Regions from separate parts of the Homo sapiens genome. Here regions 2, 3 and 4 are each linked to region 1. Evidence: promoter capture Hi-C in human tissues and cell types (Jung and others, 2019). All regions are on one chromosome and are shown on one strand. The core of a region is centred on a gene start or on the middle of the fragment in contact, and the rest is flanking DNA. Distances in the headings are between cores, read along the strand shown. Region 1 holds the start of ARL4D (ARF like GTPase 4D). Region 2 overlaps CFAP97D1 (CFAP97 domain containing 1). Region 3 has its middle 26 kb from the start of SOST. Region 4 holds the start of MEOX1 (mesenchyme homeobox 1).

Evidence for each region. The method cuts DNA at HindIII sites, captures the fragments that hold promoters and counts their contacts. A contact is called where the count stands out against the background at its distance.
Region 2: a fragment that was not itself captured here is called in contact with the fragment with the promoter of ARL4D in region 1 in 1 of the 25 tissues and cell types used here (adrenal gland).
Region 3: a fragment that was not itself captured here is called in contact with the fragment with the promoter of ARL4D in region 1 in 1 of the 25 tissues and cell types used here (H1 embryonic stem cells).
Region 4: a contact is called between the fragment with the promoter of MEOX1 here and the fragment with the promoter of ARL4D in region 1, in 2 of the 25 tissues and cell types used here (IMR-90 fibroblasts and aorta).

The regions. Positions count from the first base shown.
Region 1 is chr17:43,397,294-43,401,049 of GRCh38, reverse strand. ARL4D (ARF like GTPase 4D) reads right to left here and starts at 2,057. Exons shown (of 2, transcript NM_001661.4): 1 at 1,957-2,057; 2 at 1-1,389. The coding sequence starts at 1,317. The coding sequence ends at 712. RefSeq lists an enhancer at 1,430-1,933. The HindIII fragment of the contact is 9,238 bases long and covers 1-3,756 here.
Region 2 is chr17:43,782,160-43,785,915 of GRCh38, reverse strand. It overlaps CFAP97D1 (CFAP97 domain containing 1), which reads right to left. Exons shown (of 6, transcript NM_001136483.3): 4 at 2,613-2,736; 5 at 2,023-2,079; 6 at 1-1,533. The coding sequence ends at 2,023. Among named protein-coding and RNA genes, the nearest start is that of CFAP97D1, 3.6 kb to the right of the region's middle. The HindIII fragment of the contact is 3,683 bases long and covers 1-3,547 here.
Region 3 is chr17:43,730,530-43,734,285 of GRCh38, reverse strand. No RefSeq gene overlaps it. Among named protein-coding and RNA genes, the nearest start is that of SOST, 26 kb to the left of the region's middle. RefSeq lists an enhancer at 1-123. The HindIII fragment of the contact is 6,631 bases long and covers 1-3,756 here.
Region 4 is chr17:43,660,081-43,663,836 of GRCh38, reverse strand. It overlaps MEOX1 (mesenchyme homeobox 1), which reads left to right and starts at 1,915. Exons shown (of 3, transcript NM_004527.4): 1 at 1,915-2,771. The coding sequence starts at 2,303. RefSeq lists an enhancer at 2,621-3,162. The HindIII fragment of the contact is 25,285 bases long and covers 1-3,756 here.

The DNA of each region.
Region 1 (3,756 bases), core at 808-3,307:
AAATTCAGCTTCAAGATAAATCTCCCTCCCCCTGCGCCACAACCCCATATAGAAATCTTGAATTGTCTCTGGGGCAAGATAAGGAGAGGAAAATGCCCCAGACCAAGGTAAGAGCTACAGTTATCAGTCTTTAATAACTTACAGGCAAATGCTAAAAAATAGTTAATAACAATAATACAGAGGACACACACAGCTTATAAAAAGGGTCATGGATCTACAAATGTGGGGAGGGGTTCTTGGCACTTTCACAGACACAAAAATAAAAACTATGTGACTGGTATTCCTAGAAAAGCAGCCTGGGGAGACTCCCCAGTTGGGGGACAGAGGAAGGGGAGATAGTTATTTCATCCCAAACACATTCTCCAAGTCACTTCCATCCCCCCGCCCCCAAACACATCCAATTAAAAATTTTTAGCCAGAGAAGAAAAATAAGAAACAGGGTCGAGGTAGAGTCACAGTTTACATTTACGTCTCCACAGTCCTGCAGCGCCCACTTCTCCAGAGAGGATGAGAGAGATATGCAAAGACATCCCATCTCCCATCCCCACCCCAGTGTGGCACCAAAACGGGACACCCCATGCTCCTCTCTCCTTCATTGAGGTGGACAGGTCCTGCACCCCAGTCTGACTGAGAGGTCACAGGCTGGTCCCACCCTGCTGTCCAAGTGTGCAGACCCCTACTAGGTGGGAGGAAAGGGAGGGGGGGCTTGGGTCACCGTCTCTTCTTGCCACCCCGAGCTGCCTTCTTCCTCTTGAGGATCATCTCATAGAGGCGCTCAAGGCCCTGCTGCAGGCCCAGACCGTCCACAGCGCTGCAGCCTTGCACATGAGTGAGAGTGGCGGCTGCTAGCTCTCGGACTGCCAGCCTCTTCTCCACCTCAGCAGCGCTCAGTGCCCCGGGCTGGTCCTGCTTGTTGGCCAGCACCAGCACTGGCACGCCCTGGTTGTCCGAGGCCCGGCTGATTCGGTGCAACTCCACCTTGGCTTCCTCCAGCCGCTCAGCCTCCGCAGCGTCCACCACAAACACTAGACCGTCTGTCCGGCGGGTATAAGAGCGCCACAGTGGTCGCAGCTTCTCCTGCCCCCCGACGTCCCACACTTGGAAGGTGATGCCACGCGATCCCCCGAGGGGCACCCGGATCTTCTCGGTGTTGAAGCCTTTGGTGGGGACACTCTGGACAAACTCCTTGAACTTGAGGCGGTAAAGGAGGGAGGTCTTTCCAGCAGAGTCCAGCCCAATGACCACGACATGCAGGGCTTGGAAGTGGGGCAAGAAGGAGGAGGCAGTGGGCGCCATCTCAGTCAAGTGGTTCCCCATAGTGAGCTAAGGCGCCTAGTAGAGGCAGGGAGGCCTTGAAATTGAAGGTTCCAGGGAGCACAGCTGGGTTATCTGAACCAAGAAAAGGTCATGGGAGAAAAAGGAGACGTTTAATAATACACACAAGATTTGCAACTTCTTGATCCCTTCCTAAATCACCCTCCCATCCTTCATTTTTAAAATTCCTTTCCTTTTTTTTTTTTTTTTTAAGGCATAACAGAGGTGTTCCCCCACTCCCTGGGGGGGTCGTGAGGGGGGCGATGGGACCTAGAGAGACTCCCAGGTCCTGGGCCACTCAAGTGGGGGGTGAGGGCTCGATCCATGGACAGTGGGCTTCTAGAGCCTCTTCTCAGAGCTTATGGCGCCATCCCCCAGGCAAGATCCCCGAGGGACGGGGGAAGTCGACAGTGCCCCCAAACTAAGAGCTAGGGTGCAGACGCTGAGACCGGAGATTGAGTCCGGCTCCCACCCGCCCTCCGCAGCCCCAAGCCGTTGACACGGTGCCCTTCCTTACTCCGCGACCCTCGCCCCACCGCCCCGCGACACTCTCCTGCCCGCCCGCCCTCCTCCGATGGCCGACCCCAGCTCCAGCGGCCCGGCACCGGGACCGCCTCAGCACGGTCTGCAGGGTCCGTTTACCTCTCGTGAGCCGCGCTCTCCTCGAGCCTTTCCCGGTGAAACACCGCAGCCGCCCCGCGAGACCCCCGCAGACACCCACCGCGCCTCCAACCGCTGCCTCTGCAGAGCCTGCCTAGGGTTCGGCCTTAAAAACCCGCGTGTGACGTCACAAGGCGCGGGACAATCAGCGGCGGCGGGGCGGAGCGTGGAGCTACGGGCGCTGCAGCCCCCACCATACGCGGAGGGGCGTTTGCTTAATCCGTGGCTGCTCTATTTGACCTTTTCTACCACACTCTAATATTTGGAATTAAACTTGGAATTAATGCAGAATGGAGGGTGGGAGGGGCGAAAGGAACGTGCCTGGCAACGTTTGACTCGGGAGGAAAGATATGAATACCCTAATATTCTCACTACCATCGCATCCCCCTCCACCAGGCCGAGATACCACCCCACATGGACACTCCTTCGGCCAAAGGATCTACTCGGAGAGGCTGACAAGTCTTTCTCCTTTATCTTTCATAATTCAATTGTCAAACCTAAGGTGAACCTGGAGCCCCATAAAACAGCTGCTTCATAGTGCTAAGCCCATTATCTGCAATAGCCTGTTAGGGACTGTTGTCTGCCTTTTACAGATACACAAAGCCCTGAAGGGTTAAATGACCTATTTGAGGTTACACTCAACAGTATGTTTAGGCGCAGTGGATCATACCTGTAAACTCAGCACTTTGGGAGGCTGAGGCAGGCACATCACTTAAGCTCAGGAGTTCCACCAGCCTGGACAACAGGGTGAAACCCCATCAGTAATAAAAAGACAAAAATTAGCCGGGCGTGGTGGCGGGTGCCTGTAATCCCAGCTACTCGGGAGGCTGAGGCAGGAGAATCGCTTGAACCCGGGAGGCGGAGGTTGCAGTAAGCTGAGATAGCGCCACTGCATTCCAGCCTGGGCGACAGAGCAAGACTCTGTCTCAAAACAAAGCAAACAAAAAAAAAAAACCAGTGTGTTTATTGGGCTGGGCACGGTAGCTCACGCCTGTAATACCAGCATTTTGGGAGGCCGATGTGGGCGAAGCACCTGAGGTCAGGAGTTCGAGACCAGCCTGGCCAACATGGTGAAACCCCGTCTCTACTAAAAATACAAAAATTAGCTGGGTGTGGTGGCGGGCGCCTGTAATTGCAACTATTCGGGAGGCTGAGGCAGGAGAATCACTTGAACCCGGGAGGCGGAGGTTGCAGTGAGCTGAGATCACACCATTGCACTCCAGCCTGGGCAACAGAGCAAGACTCTGTCTCAAAAAAAACAAAAACAAAACAAAACAAAACAAAAAACACTGTGTTTATTGACCTCATTCATACTGTGTGCTCTGAATGAGACAGAGAGATGGTGGAGAAATAGAGGATGTCTCGGCTGTAGAATCAGGCCTCAAAGGGCTTAAGACTTAAGACTGGCAATGACAGAATGAGACAGCACATGTATTGGGTCTTTGTAAATCATGAGATAGCACTTGTAGGATTTCAGAGAAGAGAGAGAATGTGTCAACTGGAAGCTTCTGAAAAGGTTTATAGACGTTCTTTAGCCCTATCTAGGACTGGTTAGGAGGGGCACAGGAATGAGTAGGGTCTCCCCAGCCACTGCAGCCTGCTACAGTCTGGGCAGCCCTGAAAGGAAGGAGATGTCACAAAGGGCAGTGTGACCAAAAGGACAACAGCAATTAGGTGGGGGAGAGAAGAGGGCCAATCAAAGAAGAATGAAATTGTAAATTGTAACTTTATCTATTTATTTATTTATTTATTTATTTATTTATTTTTGAGACAGAGTTTTGC
Region 2 (3,756 bases), core at 457-2,956, 390 kb before region 1:
TCCAGAGGCGGGGCTTGGACACAGGATCCAATTGAGGACTAGCTAAAACAGGAAAGGGGTGGAAGCAGCTTTCCATAAGACACTCCCACTAGTGTGCCATGTCAGTTTACCATTACCGTAGCAACACCTAGGAGTTACCACCCCTTTCCAGGGCAATGACCCAAGGACCCAAAAATTACTACCCTTTCCTATAGGCCGGACATGGTGGCTCACGCCTGTAATCCCAGCACTTTGAGAGGCCGAGGCGGGCGGATCACGAGGTCAGGAGTTCAAGACCAGCCTGGCCAAGATGGTGAAACCTCGTCTCTACTAAAAATACAAAAATTAGCTGGGCGTGGTGGCGAGTGCCTGTAGTCTCAGCTACTTGGGAGGCTGAGGCAGGAGAATCGCTTGAACCCAGGAGGCGGAGGTTGCAGTGAGCTGAGATCGCGCCATCTGCACTCCAGCCTGGGCGACAGAGTGAGATTTCATCTCAAAAAAAAAAAAAAAAATTACTACTCCTTCCCTAGAATTTCTGCACAAACCGCCCCTTAATCTACATGTAATTAAAAGTACGTATAACTATGACTGCAAAACTCTCTGCCTTTGGGGTAGCCCTGTACTGCAGGAGCAGTCATGGAGCTGTAACACTGCTGCTTCAATAAAACTGTCTTCTTCTACCCTACCACTGGCTCACCCTTAAATTCTTTCCTGGGTGAAGCCAAGAACACTCGCAGGCTAAGCCCCACTTTGGGGGTTGTCTGCCCTGCTCCACCAGGGTCTCCAGCTTGCAGATGGCCTGTGGTGGGACTTCTTTAGCTTCCATGATCTTGTGAGCCAATTCCCCAAATAAATCCTCTCCTCTCTCTCTCTCTTTCTCTCTCTCTCTCACTCTCTATCTATCTCTCTCACTCTCTCTCTCTCTCTCTCTCTCCTATTGAGTCTGTCTCTTTGGCAAATGCTGACTAATATAGTTGGGCTGAAAACTAGCATGACCAATCATAGCAGGCCTGCAACATTGTCTCACCGTATGTTTTGAGACATTTTCACTGCTGCTGCTCCCTATAAATGAACAGAGTCCATGGAAACTTCAATGAGGCATTCTTTTCCGATCGTGTGTATTCACAGAGGAACTAATGGCATTTGTTCCTTGTGTTTTCTGAACCTTGATGTTGTCATGTGATTTCGTTTTCCATTTTGACAGTGCTGTACTTGTGGCTGGATGATCTCACCCCAGCTTTTCTTCTTCCACGGGATGGTGATGATGGTGTATGTTTTAAAGAGTTCTCTCAGATTTCTCTCTCTCTCTCTCGTTAAAACTTCTTTTCATAGCCCCAAATAAAAATGCTCATTGCATCTTTCCTTCTGCCTGCCCCATTTTGGAATGAGAACATAAAGCCTTTGGGTCCCCTAAATGTAACTTACGCATTTTATGTTCCAAGCTTTATTGAAGCATCTGAAGATGGAGCATTCAGCCAGTCGGGAGTGTCTTGAGATCCTGAGCAGCCAAGAAATCCTAGGGCCTTCTCTTGTATCTTTTCCATGGTGAGTAACCTTGTATTCAGTGGAGAAGAGAGAAGGAGACACATCAATTATACAGAACTATTCTTTGGAACGCCTAAGTGTCCATTTATCTTTCTCCCTTGGGTGGGGGAAACCACTTAGTCATCACTAATAATGTTAAATAATACAAAATGACAACATGCTGGTACTTTTGAATACTGACAGAGACCTGGAATGTAACTTTGGCACAATTTTAAAGCCACAGGTCTTCCAGTTTATGTCTTATTGGAACAAATCACTTCCCCTCAGACTCCCACAAAGCCTCAAAGATGATGACAAAAGACAATGTCATTTCCTTCTTGTATGGAGAGAAGAAATAAAGTCAGAGAGCCCCAAGTTTCCCGAATGGAAGACTAGTCAATATTATATGAGAAGAGCAAAATCCGTCTCCTTAACTGGGCCCCTCATTCGCCATTTATGGGGTTCTCAGGGCTTTGGTATCAGCTGTGGTCACAGTGTTTGATAGTAAGAGAGACATACCTATTCATTTTGGGAGAGAAGATATCTCGTGGTATTTCTGATATAGCGCCTTGAATTCTTGAAGGAAAAAAATTGGTTTATGTCAATGCCAGGGCATTGGTGCTATTACTGAAGTTCTAAATCCCAGGGATGACTTAGAAAAGATTTAAAGACCAAAGTCGGTAAGTGGAGGTTTTTTAAAACACCACAGATGGTTTCCCCTCCCCTGGCCTTTTTAAGGGTCATTCCTAAATGAAGCAAACCAACCGCATACTGACTGAATCTTATACCCTTCATCCCTGTACATTCAGCCTTTCTTAATGAATTAAGGGGTGAGGGAAGACGCTACTAGATTATTTTTCTGAAACTGACACATAATTGTTATGTTATGAAACTGACACATAATGGCTTTGCTACCAAGCTGTTTTAGCTGTTTGTTTGATGGTTTGTGCCTGTTAGCTTTGTTTGCTTTGGATGGTTTTTCTTTTAACGATTGTTACATTTCATGTGATCTGACTCTAGCTGTTCAGGGATTTTTCTGAGACTCTCTCTAGGCTGAACACCGACAAACTCTGTGTGTGTCTGGGAGTATAACATGAGTGCCCACGTGCCTGCCAGTCTATCTCAGATGCCCTGCGGTCATAGTGGGGTTTGCGATCAACAAGCCTCTTCAGAATGCCCTGGTTTTCCATGGTGATTCTCACTAGCTCGCGGTTCCTTGTTTCTCTGTTTAAGCTGAAAAACACAAAACCCCGAAATGGGTGAAGAAGGAAATGCTCATCTTGACGAGTGGGGGAGATGAAGTCATGAGATCATAAATGCCAGACTGTCTAAGTGCAGGGAGTAAACTGTCCTGCTGAGCCCACAGGCCCCTGGGACAGCCTGTTGGTCTGCACTGCACTCCGGGAAACATGCACCGCATTCGCAGGTTTATATCAGTGGTCCTCAACCCTGTTGCCCATGAGAAGATTCTACTTCATTGATCTGAGGTGAACCGTGCACACTGGCATTTTCTTAAAATTCCCCAAGGATTATAATGTAAAACCAGGATTGAGAACTTCTGGTTGGGGGAAGGTCTCCCTGTGAATAAATCACAAACGGCTGGCGACAAGTTTTGGGTCACCTCACTCCTCTCAGCTTTCAACTTATACCAGAATATACCAGGATATAGAATGGCATCTTGACCATCTCCTCGCCCCCAGCAAATTCTTTCTCTTGCATGAGCTTCTTTTGTATCCCTAATCACACTGCATTGTCATTATTTCCATAAATATCTCCCCTACAAGACCTTGAGTTCTTTGAGGTAAGGAAATATACATCTCATTTCATCTTTATTATTCCTGGTACCTAGCACATAGTAGTTGCTCAGGAAAGATTTCTGGAACTGATTTTAAGAATGTCACATCATAGCCCCAGCCATGGTGCTATGGAACAGATGCCTGTGTCCCCCAAAATTCTTATGTTCAAATCCTAACCATGAAGGTGATGGTATTAGGGGGTGGGCCTTTGAGAGCTGATTAGGTCACCCTAATGGAATTAGTGTCCTTATGAAAGAAGCCTCTTTCTCCTTCTGCCCCGTGAGGTTACAGTGAAAAGATGGTTGTCTATGAAGCAGGCCCTCCTCAGATGCCGAATTTACTGGCACCTTGATCTTTGGACTTCCTTGCCTCTAGAACTATGAGAAATTTTTGTTGTTTATAAGCCACCAGTTTATAGCAATTTGCTATAGCGCCCTATAATGGACTAAGACACATG
Region 3 (3,756 bases), core at 433-2,932, 330 kb before region 1:
CCATCCTCTTACGGTGGAAAGCAAAGGCTTGGGCTGTGTATCCCTCCAGGACTCCTCCATGAGCCCTAGTGTCTGCAGAGGGTGTGGTCCAGGAAGAAGCAACTGACCTTCTGCTTCCAGAAGTGAGGATTTCCTGTAGCTCCTAGGCCTGGCCTGCCCTGGGATGGCTCCAACCCTACCAATATATGTGAGTTCCTTTATAGCTGCTGTTTATTTTTGAAAGGAAGCATCTTTGGTGACCAGCATCACATGTCAAAGTTGAGAGTGCATGACCAAAAGATCCTGTGACTCAGGGAGAGCTCTAGATAGCCTTTATCTCTGCCCAATTATTCTTCCAGAATCTCAGTTAGTGATCCTGTCATTCATCTTCTCATAAACCTTCTATGGCTCCCCACCACCAACCAAATTAAATCCAAGTCTGGAAACAGGCATTCATGAATCCAGCTCTGCAATACAGCAGTATATACTTTTGCAGTGTCAACTACCTGGAGCTGGAGTTAGTACAGACTCCACAGGTTAAGGACATAGTCTTCAACAAGACTGCCCTCACTTCAGAGACCCCACATAATATGGGGTCCCCAGGCTACCTGCATTTCTGATCAACTGGCTACAAATTTGGGGGTTCCCACAACCCCTCATATTTGACAATTTGCTACAATGACTCACATAACTCAGCAAAGTGCTATACTTACCATTACACTTTTATTATAAAGGGTACAAATCAGGACCAGCCAAATGAAGAGATCCATAGGGTGAGGTCTGGGAGGATCCCAAACACAGAGCTTCCATATCTTCTCCCCATGGAGTCAGGATGTATCACCCTCCTAGCACACTGGTGTTCACCCACCAGGAGGCTCAATTGAGCCTTGAGGTCCAGAGTTTTTATTGGTGTTTCATCACGAGGCATGATTGATCAAATAATTGGCCATGTGATTGAACTCAATCTCTAACCTCCCTGGAAGTCAGGCTGATATAATCTGGCTCAAAACCCCAACCCTCTAATCATTTGGTTGGTTCCTAATGGCTAGTCCCCATCTTGAAACTATCTAGGGGCCCACCATGAGTCACCTTGTTAGTATAAACTCAGGCATGGTCCCAGTGGCTCACTATGAATAACAAAGACATTCCTATCACTTGGGAAATTCCAAGGGTTTAGAAGCTACCTCTCAGAAACCCAAGACAACTGGAGAAATTATTATGCAACAAATGCCAGCCTATCTTCACCACAGTGTGCCCCATGACCCCTTTTCTATGCTCTTGGCTTAGGTCAGGCAGAGCAGCTTGCGGCTCTCCATGTGGACCTGGAGATTTTTCACCTCGCTTCCTTTGCTTGCACTGATCCCTTTGTCTGGAATTGCCTCCATGAGGGTACCCATCCTTCGTGTAGATATAACTGTCCTCATTTTAGATGAGAAAGTTGAGGACTAGAAGATGAAGTCACTTTTCAAAGACAATTGGATCTATATGATAAAACCAGGCCATAAATCCAGGCCTATCTGAAGCCCCAACCTGTGTGATCCCACTTCCCCGTGGGCAGTAGGATTGGCTGATATTATTGAAATCCCTTAAAGATCATTCTGTAATTATTCTCCCATGAAAAAATGGCTTAAAGGGGGCAAAACTTGCCATCACTAACAATGCCACCTTGGGGAAGCTAAACTCCCAAATTAACAGATACCCTCAACTGCAAGTAATAGAAAGGCCCACAAAAAGACCCTTAGACCAGGAGCTGGCAAACTTTTTCTGCAAAGGGCCAAGGGCCAGAGAGTAAATATTTGAGGCTTTGCAGGCCATAAGGTCTCTGTCGTGACTATGCATCCCTGCCATTGTAGCACTAAACAATATGTAGACAATACATAAACAAATGGGCATGGCTGTATTCCAATAAAACTTTATTTACAAAATCAAGCAGTGGGCCAGACTTGGCTCCTGGGTCATAGTTTGCCAACCCTTGTCTTAAACCAGGAGGACATTTATTCACCATATAACAAGAAGTCTAGAAATAGGGTGGATCCAGGTGAGCTACTCAGGCAGCTCAGCAGCATCTTCAGATCCTAGGTTCCTTCCTGTTATTTGCAGATGACAACATCCAGAAACAGAAAAGTTCATGCCTCCTTGGTCAGAATAGTTCACAGGCTAATCCCTGGCTAATGGGAAAGGAGTTATCCAGATTGCCTTAGACAAATGGTCTCATCCCTGGCTGCAACATTAGAATCACCTGAGAGCTTTTAAGAAACACCTGGGCCCAGCTGGGCACAGTGGCTCACACCTGTAATCCCAGCACTTTGGGAGGCGGAGGTGGGAGGATAATGAGGTCAGGAGATTGAGACCATCCTGGCTAACAAGGTGAAACTCCATCTCTACTAAAAATACAGAAAATTAGCCAGGCGTGGTGGTACGCACCTGTAGTCCCAGCTACTTGGGAGGCTGAAGCAGGAGAATCTCTTGAACCTGGGAGGTGGAGGTTGCAGTGAGCTGAGATTGTGCCACTGCACTCCACCCTGGCGACAGAGAGAGACTCCGTCTCAAAAAAAAAAAAAAAAGAAAAGAAAAGAAAAGAAAAGAAACACCTGGGCCCCTACCAGAGTTTTGCATTTAATGGTTATGAGGTGGGGCCTTGTCATTGATATTTTTTAAAACCATTCATAGCTGGAAAGGAAAGGCATTGGCAGACCAGTCAAAACTCACTGCACGCAAAGGCCAATTCATGATCACCATCAAAAAAGTATTTTAGCAAGGAGGAAGAAGGGTCTATTAGTCCATTTTCACACTGCTAATAAAGACATACCTGACATTGGGCAATTTACAAAAGAAAGAGGTTTAATTGGACTTACAGTTCCATGTGATTAGGGAAGCCTCATAATCATGGCAGAAAGCAAGGAGGAGCAAGTCCCGTCTTACATGGATGGCAGCAGGCAAAGTGAGAATGAGGAAGACGCTAAAGTGGAAACCCCTGATAAAACCATAAGATCTCGTGAGACTTATTCACTATCACGAGAACAGTATGGGGGAAACTGCCCCCACGATTCAATTATCTCCCACCAGGTCCCTCCCACAACACATGGGAATTATGGCAGCACAATTCAAAATGAGATTTGGGTGCAGACACAGAGCCAAACCATATCAAAGGGCTAAGGCTGAAGGGCCACATCTCAATGTGATGCTTTTCACTTGCAAAATGGAAATCAAGGTAGGACCTACTTCAAAAGTCCCTGCAAAATTTAAATGAAGCAGCATGCCTGGTACAGTGCCTGGAAAAAATAAGCACTCACTGCATTAGCAGTTGATTGCTCTTAATCATTATGAAGTCCTCCTAGATGTCTTATGTACATTTTAGAGAATGTACCAATTGAATGATGTTGGTTTTTTATGGGATTTGAACCCCAGCCTTTCCTCAGCTATCTGGAAAACTGGGAGTGGCAGGTATTTAAAAAAAAATACAAGTGACTCACCACAACACTTCCCTCCCAAATATTTCATGTAAGAACACAGCACAGAGATCAATTGATCTCTACTCTCTCCTGAAAAGCATCATGGCACAAACACTTTCCTGAGGGCCGTTTAGAAGCCTCACTCTTCCTTAGTCATAGAAGAAGACTTTCTCCCCCGTTCCGCTCTGGGCCATCTTCTCCCCGTTTCCCCATCTATTTCTAGCCACTTTTCAAAGCAAAGTGGGAAATCTCTCTTAATGCTCCTTTTCTTCCTTCTACTAGTTTTCTATGGCTGCTGCAACAAATTACCACAAACTTAGAGCCT
Region 4 (3,756 bases), core at 666-3,165, 260 kb before region 1:
GAGGCTGAGGCAAGAGAATGGCGTGAGCCCGGGAGGCGGAGCTTGCAGTGAGCTGAGATCATGCCACTGCACTCCAGCCTGGGCGACAGAACGAGACTCCATCTCAAAAAGAAAAAAAAAAAAAAGAAGTTCAGAGAGATAAGGTGACTTGTTCCAGGGCACACAGCCAGGAAGTGGCAGACCTGGGGCTTGAACTCAGACCCGTCTAACCTCAAACCCCATGCCTCCTCCTCTGCATCTGGCCTGCTCCAAACTGAACAGCAGGACACCTGAGGCCAAGTGCTGATTCCACCATTTCTTAGCTGTGTGAGTCTGGGCAGCCCAGTCATCCATCTGAGCCTCGGTTTTGTCATCTGCAAAATGGAGACATAATTCTTACTTACCCATCCTAGGAAAGTTGTGAGGCTCAGAGAATTGTGTGTGCCACAGCTAAGCCCTGGGCAAAGCAGAAAGATGAGTCTGGTTGACAGCTATGACCCCATCCACTCTACTGGTCTACAACACTCTGACCGCTTGTTCCAGAAGAGGGCACATCTTTTCATATGTACACCCCTCCCCATCTTTTACAGCTGCTCCTGCTCCCAGGATGTGTATCTGACTGGAGTTTCTGGATTAAAGGCCAGTCGTGGCTTCATTCCACATCCCTGGGTGCCCTTCGGCTCCTCCTAGGAGCATCTCCTGCACCCACCCCCCAGGGCCCCACCTCCAGGCTGCAGAGCTAAGACCTAGGGGCCCCTCCTCAGGGAACCCTCGCCGTCTTTGGAAGCAGCCAGCAGAGACGCTGCTGTTAAGGTCCATGCCTGTTTCTGCCCCCATCCTGCTGCTCTGGGCCATGGGAATAACCAGTGGGGAAGGAGTTCTGGCCCCTGGGTGTTAGGAATGTCGTCCTCCAAGAAATTGCATTAACCCTCTGAGAGACCAGCAGGGCGCAGCCATGAGGAAGACTGGGCATCAAGATGGCACTTGGGCTGGCTGCCCTGTGATGTGCACCAGCCCGGAGACCCACGTGCCTGCTTGCCAAAGAGGCTCCTTTGGGGAATGAGGAGCCCCTGATTCCTATTTCCCTACCCCAAATTCCTCGGAAGCCTCCGCCTCTGGGGGATGAGAAAGGGAAGCAGGTGGGTGGAGGTGAAGGGGGCAGGGAGCAGGTGGGAGGAGACCCGAAGAAACTTCAAGGACCTTATTTAAGAGCCTTGCCATTGCTGTGAAGAAAAATGACTTGAAACCTCTCTAGAGAAGAGTGTGGCTAATTGGCATGTATGTTGGAGGTTAAAGAGCGGAAGGAAGAATCTGATTGTTTTTTTAAGTTACTGAGAAAGTGAGAATGTCACTCTGGGCAGAGAGAAATTCTTTTTTTCTAGAGTGTGCCTTTCTTTGTACTGCAGACCACAGTGGGCCGCTGAGACTTGCAAAAAAGATTTCTTTTAATCCACCTTCCTTTTTCGCAGGCAGCAGTAGAAGGGCCTTTAAATCAAATGCAATCACCAAGCTTGTCTCTTGCTCTTATTCCTCACTTCACTCCCTGGAATTTGGCATTTGATGGATTCTGGATCTGACTTAAGGCTTTTTCTAAATCCAAGACTTGGGGAATTTTGTTAACAGTGCAATAAAAATAACTTCATAGTGTTACAGGAGGCACATTAAAGACGGTGTGTGTGTATGTGTGTGTGTGCTGCTCTCTTTCCTTAAAAAAAAAATACAGACAATGTTTCTTTAAAAGTCTCCATCTGCAAATCCCATTAGATGTGCATATAAGGTTTCTGATGATTAATAGTTGCCTGCTAGGGTTTTGGTTGGAGGGGATCTTGTGTGTGTGGGTTAACCCCTCCCTCTCCTCTCTCACATTTCACTTCAGAAATTTGTCACTCTCTCCCCACCGCAGGATTTAAAAGTGTGTCCCAGCAGCCCTGGTCCAGCCCTCTGCAGGCATTTGCTCTGGGCTCCAGGACGAACTCCTCGTCAGCTGGTGCGTCTGGGTTGGGACAGTGAAAATGTTTAGTGTCATTGGCGACAAATACACATACAGGGGATCCCAGTAGGTAGGCTGGTGCATTGGAGGGGCAGGAGCAAGCCCGACATAGGTGTGTGCACACACATAGGAGTAGCTGGCCACATGTGTGTGTACTTTAAGGAGAGACTTTAGTTTTGGGTTTTTTTTTTTTTTTGGTTCCTGGGGTAAATTTTCTGTTGAACATTTTTCCCTCCTATTTAGTTTTTTTTCTTTTGCATTTTTAAAAATTTGAACATAAAAAGTATAAAGAATCAAATCTTTGAAAGGACCGAGGCGTGCAGCGGACAGCAGATGGATCCCGCGGCCAGCAGCTGCATGAGGAGCCTCCAGCCCCCAGCCCCTGTCTGGGGCTGCCTTCGAAACCCCCACTCGGAAGGCAATGGGGCCTCAGGGCTACCCCACTACCCGCCCACCCCGTTCTCCTTCCACCAGAAACCAGACTTCCTGGCGACAGCGACGGCAGCGTACCCTGACTTCTCAGCCTCCTGCCTGGCAGCCACCCCACACAGCCTGCCCCAGGAGGAGCACATCTTCACTGAGCAGCACCCCGCTTTCCCACAGTCCCCCAACTGGCACTTCCCTGTCTCAGACGCCCGGCGCAGGCCCAACTCAGGCCCGGCAGGGGGTTCCAAGGAAATGGGGACCAGCAGCCTGGGCCTGGTGGACACCACAGGAGGCCCAGGCGATGACTACGGGGTGCTTGGGAGCACTGCCAATGAGACAGAGAAGAAATCATCCAGGCGGAGAAAGGAGAGTTCAGGTAGGTGGCTCAGGAGCAGCTGATCATTCCTTTACTGTGTGACCCTGGGGAAGTTACTCACCCTCTCTGTGCCTAGGTGCTCTGAGCATGAATTTCTGTCTAGTCCATCCAAATGCAGGAGACTGGACCAGTTACCTTTGGGGTTTCTTCCACTGAGAGTTCTAGGATTCTCTGGTGATGGGGACCATGTCTGTGTCCCAGCACTCCTGGGCCCCAGAAAGGGTGTCCAGCAAGAGAATGAAACAGGATCAGCCAGGATTTGGAGGACACGTGAAATGGATCCTCTGGGTGCAGACTGGCGAGGGCTGGTGAGGGGCTTTCCTGAATCAGGCTGCCATTGAGTCATCCTCCTCCCCACCATGCTTTGGCCAGCCCCAAGTGGTCCTAGAGCCACAGGGCTCGCTTACCAGGGAAGTTCAGCTGAGGTTAAGGCTCTGAGAGCTAAGACTGAAGCTGGGACCCTGGGTGGCCACCCAAAGCCAAGACCCTATGTGTCCAGGAGCCTAGAGGCAGAGAAGCAGGCCTGCGGCTGGGATGGGAGAATCAAGGGGTGAGGGGGAGATGGAGGGCTGAGGTTTGGGGCAGACTGCCCACCAGATATCACCCTGCGGAGCTGGGCCATGTCCAGGCCAAGGGGACAGACAACTCAGCATGCTGAGATCTGGCTGACCCCCCAGGAAGGCAGCCCCGCAAGGAGCTGCAAGGGATGGGCAGCCTCTGAGAGAGTCAGGGAGGCAGGCAGCCAAGGGAGTCCGTGCTGGAGTCCCAGAGGCTGGAGGATGAGATTGGCCTATTTGTTAAGATTCCAGCTAAAGCCCTTCTCTTCCCCAGGGTGGGGACCTGCTGCTTCCTCACCTCCCCACCAGGCCCTCCCTGGTTGCTCACTATACCTGTCCACCTTTTGTCTGGTTCCTTGTCCCGGCCTCGTTCAGAACAAAGCAGTGACCAAGCCTCCTGCCCGTGCTGCCCTGTTTTCCTCCTGACA